Regions from separate parts of the Homo sapiens genome. Here region 1 is linked to region 2. The links are contacts of gene promoters, found by promoter capture Hi-C in human tissues and cell types (Jung and others, 2019). All regions are on one chromosome and are shown on one strand. The core of a region is centred on a gene start or on the middle of the fragment in contact, and the rest is flanking DNA. Distances in the headings are between cores, read along the strand shown. Region 1 overlaps TPGS1 (tubulin polyglutamylase complex subunit 1). Region 2 holds the start of MED16 (mediator complex subunit 16).

Region 1 (6,280 bases), core at 3,549-6,048, 380 kb after region 2:
GCGCCCCGCACGCGGGGACCCCCCAGCGCAGATCCCGGATCCGCGCGGCCCACGGGCCTCAGCCCACCGGCTTGACCTTCGCGATGAAGAGCGCGGCGGCCCTCTCCAGAAACTCCTCGCGGGTCATGGGCGCGCTGGGCCGCCGCCCCCCGACGGCGCGGTCCAGCGCCAGCGCCAGGCTGTCGGGCCCCAAGCGCGAGCCGGCCTCCAGGAAGCGCGCGGGCGCGGCGGCGTCGCTGGCCTGCAGCGCGCCCTCCAGGGTGTCCAGCACGGCCTGGCCCACGCGGCGGTCGGCCACGGCGGCGGCCGAGTCCTCCAGCAGCTGGAAGAGCGCGCCGGCGCGCGCCACGAACTCCAGCAGCACGAAGCAGGTGAGTGTGCCCGCGCGGAAGACGCTCAGCGGCACCGCCTCGTGGTCACGGCACTGCACCTTGCGCAGCAGCGGCGCCACCACCTCCTCGGGGGCTTGGCCGTCCCGGCAGATGCGCCTGAGCAGCTCGCTGTAGGTGCGCCCGTCCAGCCCCGGCCTCTTCCTGCGCCCGCCGGCGCTCAGGCACTCGTAGGCCACGCTCACGTTGTTGTTGAAGGCGGCCCTGCGGAGACGGGGACGTTGGGGGCCGGCAGAGACCGCGCGCCCACCCAGCCCCAGCCTCCCCTCCTCGCCAGGCCTATGCCCTAGCCTCCCCGACCCCCCAGCCAGCCCTGGCCTCCCCTCTCCTCCTACCCCCCATCCCCGGCCTCCCCTCCTCCTCACCCTCTATCCCTGAAGCTCCTCTCTTGAGCCCCCGCCTCCCTTCTCCCAGCTAGGGCCTCTCCTCCCCGCAGCATCCCCAGCCCGGGCCTCTCCTCCCCCAAGCATCCCCAGCCCGGGCCTCTCCTCCCCCCAGCATCCCCAGCCCAGGCCTCCCTCCTCCCAGTCCCCTCCCAGCCCAGGCCTCCCTCCCCCAAGCATCCCCAGCCTGGGCCTCTCCTCCCCCAGCATCTCCAGCCCAGGCCTCCTCCTCTCAGCCCCCTCCCAGCCCTGGCCTCTCCTCCCCCCAGTATCCCAAGCCCAGGCCTCCCTCCTCCCAGCCCCTACCCAGCCCGGGCCTCCCTCTTCCCAGCCCCTACTCAACCTGGGCCTCCCCTCCCCACCCCACCAGCACTCCCAGCCTGGGCCTCCCTCCTCCCAGCCCCTACCCAGCCTGGACCTCCCCTCCTCCCAGCTCCCACCCAGCCTGGCCTCCCTCCTCCCAGCCCCTACCCAGCCGGGGCCTCCCTCTTCCCAGCCCCTACTCAACCTGGGCCTCCCCTCCCCACCCCACCAGCACTCCCAGCCTGGGCCTCCCTCCTCCCAGCTCCCACCCAGCCTGGCCTCCTTCCTCCCAGCACCCCCCAGCCCGGGGCTCCCTCCTCCCAGCACCCACCCAGCCAGGCCTTCCTCCTCCCAGCACCCCCTCAGCCTGGGCCTCCCCTCCCCACCAGCACCCCCAGCCTCGGCCTCCTCCCAACCTGGATCTCCCTCCTCCCAGCCTCTACCCAGCCTGGGCCTCCTCCCAACCTGGATCTCCCTCCTCCCAGCCTCTACCCAGCCTGGGCCTCCTCCTCCCAGCCCCCACCCAGCCTGGCCTCCCTCCTCCCAGCACCGCCCAGCCCGGGCCTCCCCTCCCCACCAGCACCCCCAGCCTCGGCCTCCTCCTCCCAACCTGGGTCTCCCTCATCCCCGCCTCCACCCAGCCTGGCCTCCCCCGTCCCAGCCCCTACCCAGCCTCGGCCTCCTCCTCCCAGCACCCCCCAGCCTGGCCTCCCCCCTCCCAGCCCCCACCCAGCCTGGCCTCCGTCCTCCCAGCACCCCCCAGCCTGGGTCTCCCCCCTTCTAGCCCCCACCCAGCCTGGCCTCCCTCCTCCCAGCCCCCACCCATCCTGGCCTCCCCCCTCCCAGCCCCCACCCAGCCTGGCCTCCGTCCTCCCAGCACCCCCCAGCCTGGGCCTCCCCCCTTCCAGCCCCCACCCATCCTGGCCTCCATCCTCCCAGCCCCCACCCAGCCTGGCCAGCCCCCACCCAGCCTGGCCTCCCCCCTCCCAGCCCCCACCCAGCCTGGCCTCCCCCCTCCCAGCCTCCACCCAGCTCAGGCCTCTCCTCCCCGCAGCTCCCATCCAGCCCTGGCTTCCCAGCTCCAACTGGACCGGCCTCAGGGCCTCTGCAAGGGCCGTGACACTGCCTTCCCCCAGATCTCCCTCACCTCCTCCCTGGTCTCCTCCAGGTCTCTCCTCAAATGTCGCCTCCCCTGACCCCTAACTCCTTTCCTCCTGTTTTCTTCCTAGTGGTCATCCTGTCTCACTCGCTGTCCCACATCCCTGTGAGCTTCATGTCTCCCACCAGTGTGAGCACCTGCCCTCCAGGGCCGGAAGTTCGTCTTGGTTATAGCCCTGGTGCCCAGAACACTGCCCTGCCCACAGTAGGTGCTCAGTAAATGTCTTGAATCAACGGCAGGCATCTGTCTGGGGCATCTGGCCCCAGTGAAGAAGGAATTAGTGAAATCAGCTCTAACCTAATAGTAGTAGTCATAGAAATTTTAAAATCCTCTTAAAGTTGCTGCAAAGTGTGACCCCCACCCTTACACTCAAGTTAAAAGAGAATGTTAACAGCCTGTCTTCTCTCTGTAGTCAGTGGACCTTATCTATACTCTCCAACTCCACATTCCTCAGTTTATTACAGGCCCAGCGAGTTCCTGCTTACCTCCCTAGCACGGCTGCAGGGTCACAAAACCGATAAGTTTAGGTTGTAAGACATGTTTTTCTCAAGATGTGAGAAATGTTGGCCAGGCACGGTGGCTCACGCCTGTAATCCCAGCACTTTGGGAGGCCGAGGTGGGAGGATCACAAGGTCAAGAGATTGAGGCCATCCTGGCCAACATGGTGAAACCCCATCTCTACTAAAAATACAAAAATTAGCGGGACGTGGTGGTACACGTCTGTAGTCCCAGCTACTCGGGAGTCTGAGGCAGGAGAATCGCTTGAACCTGGGAGGTGGAGGTTGCGGTGAGCCAAGATGGCGCCACTGCACTCCAGCCTGGGCGACAGAGCGAGACTCCGTCTCAAAAAAAAAAAAAAGAAAAAGAAAAAAGAAATGCTGTAATGCTTAACTGCCTTTGTTTCTCGCCTCTGTAACTTGCTTCCCGCCTCACGTAGTTCCCGCCTTACGATGTTTAAAAATAGGAAAAGCCCTTTGTTCGAGGCTCAGACTTTCTGGATGTATGTCCAGCTGAGCCGGTGATCACCTTGATAAACTCTCCTGAACCTTTTTCGGTCTCTCCACTCTTTGTCCCACAACACCAGGACCCTCTGGTCTCCCTCCCTGCAGCAGCAGCGCCTGTTTACATGTGGCCAAATACTGTGCCCAACATTTAACACAACTGACATTTGTTTTTTTCTTTTCTTTCTTTCTTTCTTCCTTTTTTTTTTTTTTTTGAGACGGAGTCTCGCTCTGTCGCCCGGGCTGGAGTGCAGTGGCGGGATCTCGGCTCACTGCAAGCTCCGCCTCCCGGGTTCACGCCATTCTCCTGCCTCAGCCTCCCAAGTAGCTGGGACTACAGGCGTCCGCCACTATGCCCGGCTAATTTTTTGTATTTTTAGTAGAGACGGGGTTTCACCGTTTTAGCCGGGATGGTCTCGATCTCCTGACCTCGTGATCCACCCGCCTCGGCCTCCCAAAGTGCTGGGATTACAGGCGTGAGCCACCGCGCCCGGCCCTCTTTCTTTTTTTGAGACAGTGTCTCACTCTGTTGTCAGGCTGGAGTGCAGTGGCACAATCTCAGCTCACAGCAACCTCCACCTCCCGGGTTCAAGCGATTCTCCTGCCTCAGCCTCCTGAGCTGCTGGGATTACAGGCGTGTGTTACCACACCCAGCTAATTTTTGTATTTTTAGTAGAGACGGGGTTTCACCATGTCGGCCAGGATGGTCTGGATCTCGAGTGACCTCGTGGTCCGCCCACCTCGGCCTCCCAAAGTGCTGGGATTACAGGTGTGAGCCACTGCGCCCAGTCTGTGCTGAACATTTAACACAGCTGACATTGCATTTTTTCTTTTTTTTTTTTTTTTGAGACAGGGTCTCACTGTGTTGTGCAGGCTGGAGAGCAGTGGTACAATCAGGGCTCACAGCAGCCTCCACCTCCTGGGCTCAAGCGATCCTCCTGCCTCAGCCTCCCAAACTGCTGGGATTACAGGTGACAGTTGCTGCTCGGGGCCAGTGGTGGTATTTCTCTCCCCACAATCCCACAGGCAAGGCCCCACAGTCAGCCTGAGGGTCAAATACGACCTGCTGCCTGCTTTTGTAAATAAAGCTTTATCGGAACATAACCACATCAGTCCGCTGACATGTGGCCTGTGGCAGCTTCCGACCAGAACCGTAGAGCTGAATGTCAGGATGGAGGCTGCCACGCAAAGCTGAAATGTTCACTATCTGGCCCCTTACAGAAGAAGGCTGTCAGCCCTGCTGCCGGCTCTGGGGTGGGTTCGATTCCCTGCCCCAGTGAGGAGCCTGAGGCCTTACTACGTGCCACTCGTGTGCTGGTAGTGTGACACACACTCCCGTGGAGGGCACCAGGGAGTGGCCAGGGAGCACCGTGGCCAGCGTGGGGGCCGCTGCAGGACCCTGGGTGGGCTGCTTAACCCCCTGGCCTCACTCCCCCCATCAGTTCCCGGCCAGGCCTCATGCTAGTGGCCTGTTACTTCCTCTGGGACATATAGGGAAACTGAGGCTCAGGGCAGCCCCATGGTCTGGCCAAGGGTCCCAGAGAGGAAGTGGCCAACCTCAGGGCTTACGCTTTTCCCTTCTGGGAGCTCAGCTTCATGGTGAGGAGGGCAGCCTTCCCTCCGGCATGACCTGGGCACACGACTTCACCTTTCTGTGGGCCACCTGTGGTAGGTGCCGGGGAAGTGCTAAGCCAGCATGCAGTAGGTGCTCAGTAAATGCAGGGTTGGTGTGCAGCAGGTGCTCAGTAATGCAGGGCTGGTACACAGTAGGTGCTCAGTGATGCTGGGCCAGAATGCAATAGGTGCTCAGTAAATGTGGGGCTGGTGTGCAATAGGTACTCAGTAATGCTGGGGCGGTGTGCAGTGGGTGCTCAGTAAATGCTGGGCCAGTAAGCAATAGGTGCTTAGTAAACGTGGGGTCGGTGTGCAGTGGGTGCTCAGTAATACAGGGCCGGTGTAGAGTAGGTGCTCAGTGAATGCAGGGCCAGTACACGGTAGGTACTCAGTAATGCTGGGGCGGTGTGCAGTGGGAGTGAAGTAAATGCTGGGCCAGCATGCAATAGGTGCTCAGTAAATGTAGGGTCAGTGTGCAGTGGGTGCTCAGTAATACAGGGCTGGTGTACAGTAGGTGCTTAGTGAATGCAGGGCTGGTACATAGTAGGTGCTCAGCAAATGTGGGGCCAGTGTGCAGTGGGTGCTCAGTAATGCTGGGTCTGTGTACAGTGGGTGCTCAGTAAATGCTGGGCCAGCATGCAATAGGTGCTCAGTAAATGTGGGGCCGGGGCAGGTTGGTGTGCAGCAGGTGCTCAGTAATGCAGGACTAGTGCACAGTAGGTGCTCAGTAATGCTGGGGTTGTGTGCAGTGGGTGCTCACTAAATGCTGGGCCAGGATGCAATAGGTGCTCAGTAAATGTGGGGCCAGTGTGCAGTAGGTGCTCAGTAAATGTGGGGCTGGTGTGCAGTAGGTACTCAGTAATGCTGGGCTGGTGTGCAGTAGGTACTCAGTAATGCTGGGCTGGTGTGCAGTAGGTACTCAGTAATGCTGGGCTGGTGTGCAGTAGGTACTCAGTAATGCAGGGCCAGTATGCAGTAGGTGCTCAGTAATGCTGGGCTGGTGTGCAGTAGGTGTTCAGTAATGCAGGGCCGGCATGCAGTAGGTGCTCAGTAAATGCTGGGCGGGTGCACAGTAGGTGCTCAGTAATGCTGGGCCGGTGCACGGTGGGTGCCTGGTGAACACGTGCCTCCCTGGTCATCACTGCTGCTCAGTTCAGGGCTTAGGGATGGACGTGCCATCTCAGCGAGCTCGAGGGTCAAAGCTCTGCTATGGAGGAGGAAACTGAGGCCCAGAGGCAGGAGGGCAGCGACCTGCAATTCAACTCTAGGCCCATCTGGCTGTACGCTCCTTTTCCCTCCCAAGTAGTAAAGGCCCCATTTGTTGGCCCTTATAATCCGCTGGGCGCTTTTACCATCCATGAGGTCATCCCCAAAATGCGCTGGGGGCAGTCGCAGTGTCAGCGCGGCGGCCCGAGCTCCCATCACGCCTGA
Region 2 (6,268 bases), core at 3,729-6,228:
TCCGCTTGCCTCAGCCTCCCAAAGTGCTGGCATTACAGGCTTAAGCCACCGCGCCCAGCCCTAGAGACAGGGTTTCACCATGTTGGTCAGGCTGGTCTCGACCTCCTGACCTCAGATGATCCTCCTGCCTTGGCCTCCCAGAGTGCTGGGATTACAGGCATGAGCCACTGCGCCTGGCCAGGTCATTCATTTTTCTGCAGTGAGGGGGAGATGGGGAAGGGGAGGCCGGTGGGAGCTGGACCACTCAGGACCTGGGTGCCTCAGAGCCACCTCTGCAGGGCAGGGAGCCTGAGGGGAGGCCGGACACTCCGCCAGGCAGGCGTGTGAGTGGCCATGCGGCCTCAGGCCCAGTGCGTTTCAGGGTCCCCATCCGCACAGTGGAATGAGTGCCAGCGGGGAGTGAGATGGGCCCGAGGAGAGTGCTCCTGTAGGGAGCCTTAGGTATTCTTGTGAGCCAGGCTCCCGGACCTGCGGGCTTAGGGCCAGCCAGGCCGCAGTGACCAGCACACACCAGCTGGCGGTGACCTCCCTGGGAAGAAGCGAGGGTGGTGCAGGTCCGAGGCACCTCTACCTGCCGCGGCTCCCAAATTCCTCCCGTTCTTGCCCCGCTGGTCCCGTCTGCAGGTGCTGACCTGGAGGGGAAGCGGCAGATGAAGGTCAGTAATCGGCACCTGGATTTCCTGCCGCCGGGGCTGCTCCTGTCCGCCTACCTGGAGCAGCACAGCTGATGGCGGCCCCGCGGAGACCCCGCTGCCACCTCGCCCAGCCATCAAGCCCTCCGATACCTTCGGCTAAAATATCTTTCATATTTTTAGAATTTGTCCTCGGAAACCTTTTTCGCTTGGGGTGGTCTCTCTCACTCTGCCCCCTCCTCACGCAGCTCTTGGCAGTCAACAGACGCTGGCGGCTGGGGCTGCCCATGCCATCCCAGCTCCAAGCTTCCCACTCCGGGACTTGTGTTTGGGTGGGGAGACCTGACCTGGGCATGTTCCTGTTTCTTCATCGTTGAGCTTTTCTGGCCCGGTCTGAAGCTCAAGTGAGGAGGGGGAGGCTGGGTTTTTATCACTTTTAATGAATTTGGTGTGATTTGTTGTAGATTTTTAAATTTCCCTTTTGGAGAGAAAAACCAAAAAAACTCGCCCCACTGGTAAAACATGGGTCTTGGTCCCAGCCCCTGCTCAGCCCCTCCCAGTTTTTAGCTTGAATGAGGGTGGGGTCTCTGGGACCCTGCCCCTCATGCCAGAAGCATCTTGTGTTGTATATGTGTGCGCGCGTGTGCCCTGAGACCCAGGACAGAAGCCACGGTCCTAAGAGCCGGTTTTATCCTCGTCATTCTGCGTGTCCTCCCCCACGCCACCTGTGTCGGGGCTCAGGGTCTCCTGCTTTATATGAGCCCCCTTCCTTTCCTCCCCTCCTTTATGCTGGGGGTCCAGGACTTCCAGCCAGAAGCCTCTGCCCTTGCACTACCTTGTCTGTCACCCCATCCCGTGTCCCCTCGTCCCCCAGCCTGACTCCTGCCTGATAGCTCCTGTGTCCCCATGCTGGTCCTCCTGGCCCAGGCTGCAGGAGCCAGGCTGGGGGGCCTCCGCACCCCCTTGCTGCGTGTGGGTAATTGTGTTTTGGGGGAAAGTGGGGAATTTAATAAATTTCTGGTGCTCTGGCCTCGGGCTATGTGTGTTTTTCTTCGGGGCAGGGCCGGGGGCTTAGTAGGTCCTGGCCACCAAGGGCTGCAGGTGCCCCCCTGGCTCCTCTGCCCTTGGTTGCCTGGATTCAAACCCTGGCTCTGCCACATGCCTGCCGTGTGACCTTGGGTGAGGAGCTTGTAGGAGTGCCTTGGGGCCCCTGTAGACCTTGAGTGAGTGGCTTGTACGAGTGCCTTGGGGCCCCTGTAATGGAGGGTCTCACACAGGGGGCTTGAAACGACAGAAGGCCAGTGCAGTAGCTCATGCCTGTGATCCCAGCACCTTGGGAGGCCAAGGCAGGAGGATCGCTTGAGCCCAGGAGTTTGAAACCAACCAGGGCAACATAGCAAGACCTTGTCTCTACAAAACATGAGAGAAATTAGCAGGGTTGGCTGGGCATGGTGGCTGCTCACACCTGTAATCCCAGCACTTTGGGGATGCCAAAGCGGGTGGATCACAAGGTCAGGAGTTCAAGACCAGCCTGACCAACATGGAGAAACCCCATCTCTACTAAAAATACAAAATTAACCGAGTGTGGTGGTGCATGCCTGTAATGCCAGCTACTCAGGAGGCTGAGGCAGGAGAATTGCTTGAACCCAGGTGGTAGAGGCTGCAGTGAGCTGAGATCGCACCTTTGCACTCCAGCCTGGGCAACAAGAGCAAAACTCTGTCACACACACAAAAATTAGCAGGGTGTGGTGTGCGCCTGTAGTCCCAGCTACTTGGGAGGCTGAGGTGGGAGGATCACTTGAGCCTGCAGTGAGCTGAGACCGTGCCACTGCACTTCAGCCTGGGTATGGAGGAAGACCCTAGGTCAAAGAGAAGCAAAAGGGAAATCTATCCTCTCACAATGCTGGAGGTAGAAGAATGAGGTCATGGTGTCTGCAGGGCAGTGCTCCCTCCAGCGTCTCTAGGGGAGGAGCCTTCCTGCCTTTCCCGGTTTCTGGGGACTTCGTGTGTCCATGGCTTGTGGCCACATTGCTGTGGTCTCATCTCCAAGTGGCCGTTTTCCCTGTGTGTTATGTCTTGTCTTGACATCGTCCTCTCCTCACGTGTCTGTGCCCAAATATCCATCTCTATGATGCCCGTCATTAGGTTAGGCCCATGCTAATCACCTCCTTTTAACCTGATTACCTCTGCAAAGACCCTGTTTCTAAATAAGGTCACATTCTGAGGTAGTGGGAGTTAGGAATTCAACCTCTCTTTTTTTTTTTTTTTTTTTTTTAGACAGGGTCTGGCTCTGTTGCCCTGGCTGGAGTGCAGAGGTACAATCCCAGCTCACTGCAGCCTTGACCTCCCAGACTGAAGTGATCCTCCCACTTTTGCCTCCTGAGTAACTGGGCCTACAGGTGTGCATCACCCCACCCAGCTATTTTATTTATTTATTTATTTATTTTGAGACAGAGTCTTGCTCTGTCCCCCAGGCTGGAGTGCAGTGGCGCGATCTCAGCTCACTGCAACCTCCACCTCTTGGGTTCAAGTGATTCTCCTGCCTCAACCTCTAGAGTAGCTAGGACTACAGGCATGTGTCACCATGCCCAGCTAATATTTTTGTATTTTTAGTAGAGATGTGGTTTCAACATGTTGGCCAGGCTAGTCTCGAACTCCTGTTCTCAGGTGATCTGCGTGCCTCAGCCTCCCAAAGTTCAGGGATTACAGGCCTGAACCACCTTGCCCAGCGCCCCTCCCTCCCCAACCCTGCTAATTTTTAATTTTTTTTTGTAGAGACGGGGTCTGGCTATGTTTCCCAGGCTGGTCTCAAACTCAAGCTGTCCTCAGACCTTGGCCTCCCAAAGTACTGGGATTACAGGTGTGTGCCACCACACCCGGGCCGCTAAGAACGTTAAATCCCTACCTGCTGCCTGGGAATGGGGATTTTCTGTAAGGTCACTGCGTGGCCCTCTTGGAGAACTGAACCCTGATCCAGAAAAAACACTCTGATATTTGGGCCATTGTTAACCTGTAATTTTAGAACAGTTTTATATTTGCAGAATTCTTGCAAAAATCATGCAGTGAGGCCGCGGTGGCTCACGCCTATAATCCCAGCACTTTGGGAGGCCGGGGTGGAAGGAGGGCTTGAGGCCTGGAGTTTGAAATCAGCCTGGGCAACATAGTGAGACCCCATCGCTATTAAAATTTTGAAAAAACAGGCTGGGCGCGGTGGCTCACGCCTGTAATCCCAGCACTTTGGGAGGCTGAGGCAGGCAGATCACCAGGTCAAGAGACTGAGACCATCCTGGCCAACATGGTGAAACTCCGTCTCTACTAAAAATACAAGAATTTGTTGGGCATGGTGGTGCGCGCCTGTAGTCCCAGCTACTCGGGAGGCTGAGGCAGGAGAATCGCTTGAGCCTGGAAGGCGGAGGTTGCAGTGAGCTGAGATCGCGCTACTGCACTCCAGCCTGGGCCACAGAGCGAGACCCTGTCTCAAAAAAAATAAAAATAAAAATAGAAGAGCACCACATCCATTGCATTAAACTGGCTTTTGGAGGAGGAGGTGGGAATAGGGTTGGAAGTAGGAATACTCAACGGGGTCGGTGACTTCGCTTACAGTTTCCCCACTCTTGGACATTAGAAAATGGAAGAAAGGCCGGGCGCGGTGGCTCACACCTGTAATCCCAGTACTCTGGGAGGCCGAGGCGGGCGGATCAGGAGGTCAGTAGATAGAGACCACCCTGGCCAACATGGCGAAACCCCGTCTCTACCAAAATACAAAAATTAGCCGGGCGTGGTGGCGCATGTTTATAATCCCAGCTACTCGGGAGGCTGAGGCAGGAGAATCGCTTCAACCCGGGAGGCGGAGGTTGCAACAAGCTAAGATCGCGCCATTGCATTCCAGCCTGGGCAACAGAGCAAGATTCCGTTTCTGGGAGGGAAAATGGAAAAAAAAAAAAAAATATGGAACGCTTCACGAATTTGCGTGTCATCCTTGCGCAGGGGCCATGCTAATCTTCTCTGTATCGTTCCAATTTTAGTATATGTGCTGCCGAAGCGAGCACGAATATTGAGTTCCACCACCAGCTATTTAAAGCCCCTGGAACAAATGTCTGTACACATAGGCCGACTTCTCTTAAATGACCTAGAGATTTAACCTCTATTTATATTAGCCCAATGTGTAATGCAACTAACGTAGTTATTGACTGGAGTTGAGAAAGTGCTCGTTGTTCTACCAAATATAGCTACGGTGGCTGCTGGGAATTACTGGAAATGGTCGTATGCAAATAGCCCCGGAGGCGGGGCAGAGCCTGAGCCGCACCGCCCTCCCAGAAGTCTTTGGGAGGCGGCCCCACGCCTCAGGCGACTGGTTGTTACCGAGGAAGATGGCGGCGCCAGACCCGAGGCGCTAGGGAAGATCGCACCGCGGACGCCCGCTGAGCTTGGCGCACGGGCCGACCAGGTGAGTGCGGGGCTGCGGGGGCCCGGCGAGGGCGGACGGACCCCTGACCGTGTCCACGGACCCGAGGGAACGCGGCGCAGCCGTGGCGGGGCCTGCGGGGTCGGGGGCGTGGCCGGGAGCAAAGGCTGCTGGGTAGGCGGCCTGGGGCGCGGGGCGCGGGGCGCGGGGCGCGGGGCGCGGGGCGCGGGGCGCGGGGCGCGGGGCTCGGGGCTCAGGGTTTGCGGCGGAAACCTGGGGGAGGCCTGAGGCCCGCGGGGCTGGGTTCGGGGCGGGGCCTAAGGAGAGTTTGGGGCGAGGCTGAAGGCGCTTGGTGGGACTTCGGGGGCGGGGCCTGGAGTGGGTTTGGGGTCGCCGGGGTGGAGCCTGGGGACTGGGGGGCTGTAGAGGCAGGGCCTGGAGACTGCGGGGTTATCGGTGCGGGGCCTGGAGAGGGAATAGGGTCCCTAGGGTGGAGACTGGGGACTGCGGAGTTATAGGGGTCTGGAGAGGGTAGGGGGTCCCTGGGATGGACCCTGGAGATTGGGGGTTATAGGGGCGGGGCCTGAAGAGGCTATGGGGTCCCTGGGATGAAGCCTCGTATTTGGGGGCAATAGGGGAAGGGCCTGGAGAGTACGTGGGGTCCCCGGGGTGGAGTCTGGGGACTGGGGAGTTTTAGGGGTTGGGCCTGGAGAGCTAAGGGCGTTGGAGGCTGGACCTGGAGAGTACATGGGACCCCTACGGTGAAGCCTGAGAATTTAGGGTGAGGCCGTGGGCTCAAGGGGTGAAATGAAGTGTGGGAAGCAAAGGGGGTCAGGGGTGGGGCTGAAAGACTTTTAGAGGCTTGTGGCGGAGCCTTGGGGGTCTGGGGCAGGCCCTGAAGAAGTAGGGAGCCGGGGTTAGGGTTTGAGGAGAACCTGGTTGCGGGTGATTCCAGGCTCCCTGGGCTTTTGCCTTTGCGAAGCGAAACAGCCCGTCTGGATGCCAGGCGCTTAGAAAGCCTCGAGGAGGTGCCCCCTCTGTTCCCTGTGACACTCAGCCCCCGCCTCGGCCACAGGTGTTCCCCAACACACTCAGCCCCGCCTCGGCCACAGGTGTTCCCCGTCACACTCAGCCCCGCCTCGGCCACAGGTGTTCCCCGTCACACTCAGCCCCCGGCTCGGCCACAGGTGTTCCCCATCACACTCAGCCCCGCCTCGGCCACAGGTGTTCC

The links. Contacts are between HindIII fragments. The study calls those that stand out against the background at their distance.
Region 1: a fragment that was not itself captured here is called in contact with the fragment with the promoter of MED16 in region 2 in 1 of the 25 tissues and cell types used here (lymphoblastoid cells).

The regions. Positions count from the first base shown.
Region 1 is chr19:513,202-519,481 of GRCh38, reverse strand. TPGS1 (tubulin polyglutamylase complex subunit 1) reads right to left here. Exons shown (of 2, transcript NM_033513.3): 2 at 1-593. The coding sequence ends at 59. Among named protein-coding and RNA genes, the nearest start is that of MADCAM1-AS1, 8.5 kb to the right of the region's middle. RefSeq lists an enhancer at 118-1,024. The HindIII fragment of the contact is 7,591 bases long and covers 1,003-6,280 here.
Region 2 is chr19:891,897-898,164 of GRCh38, reverse strand. It overlaps MED16 (mediator complex subunit 16), which reads left to right and starts at 4,978. Exons shown (of 16, transcript NM_005481.3): 1 at 4,978-5,079. RNU6-9 (RNA, U6 small nuclear 9) reads right to left here and starts at 4,681; the gene lies at 4,575-4,681. It overlaps R3HDM4 (R3H domain containing 4), which reads left to right. Exons shown (of 8, transcript NM_138774.4): 8 at 625-1,662. The coding sequence ends at 728. RefSeq lists an enhancer at 4,701-4,850 and silencers at 4,991-5,260, 5,311-5,360. The HindIII fragment of the contact is 37,799 bases long and covers 1-6,268 here.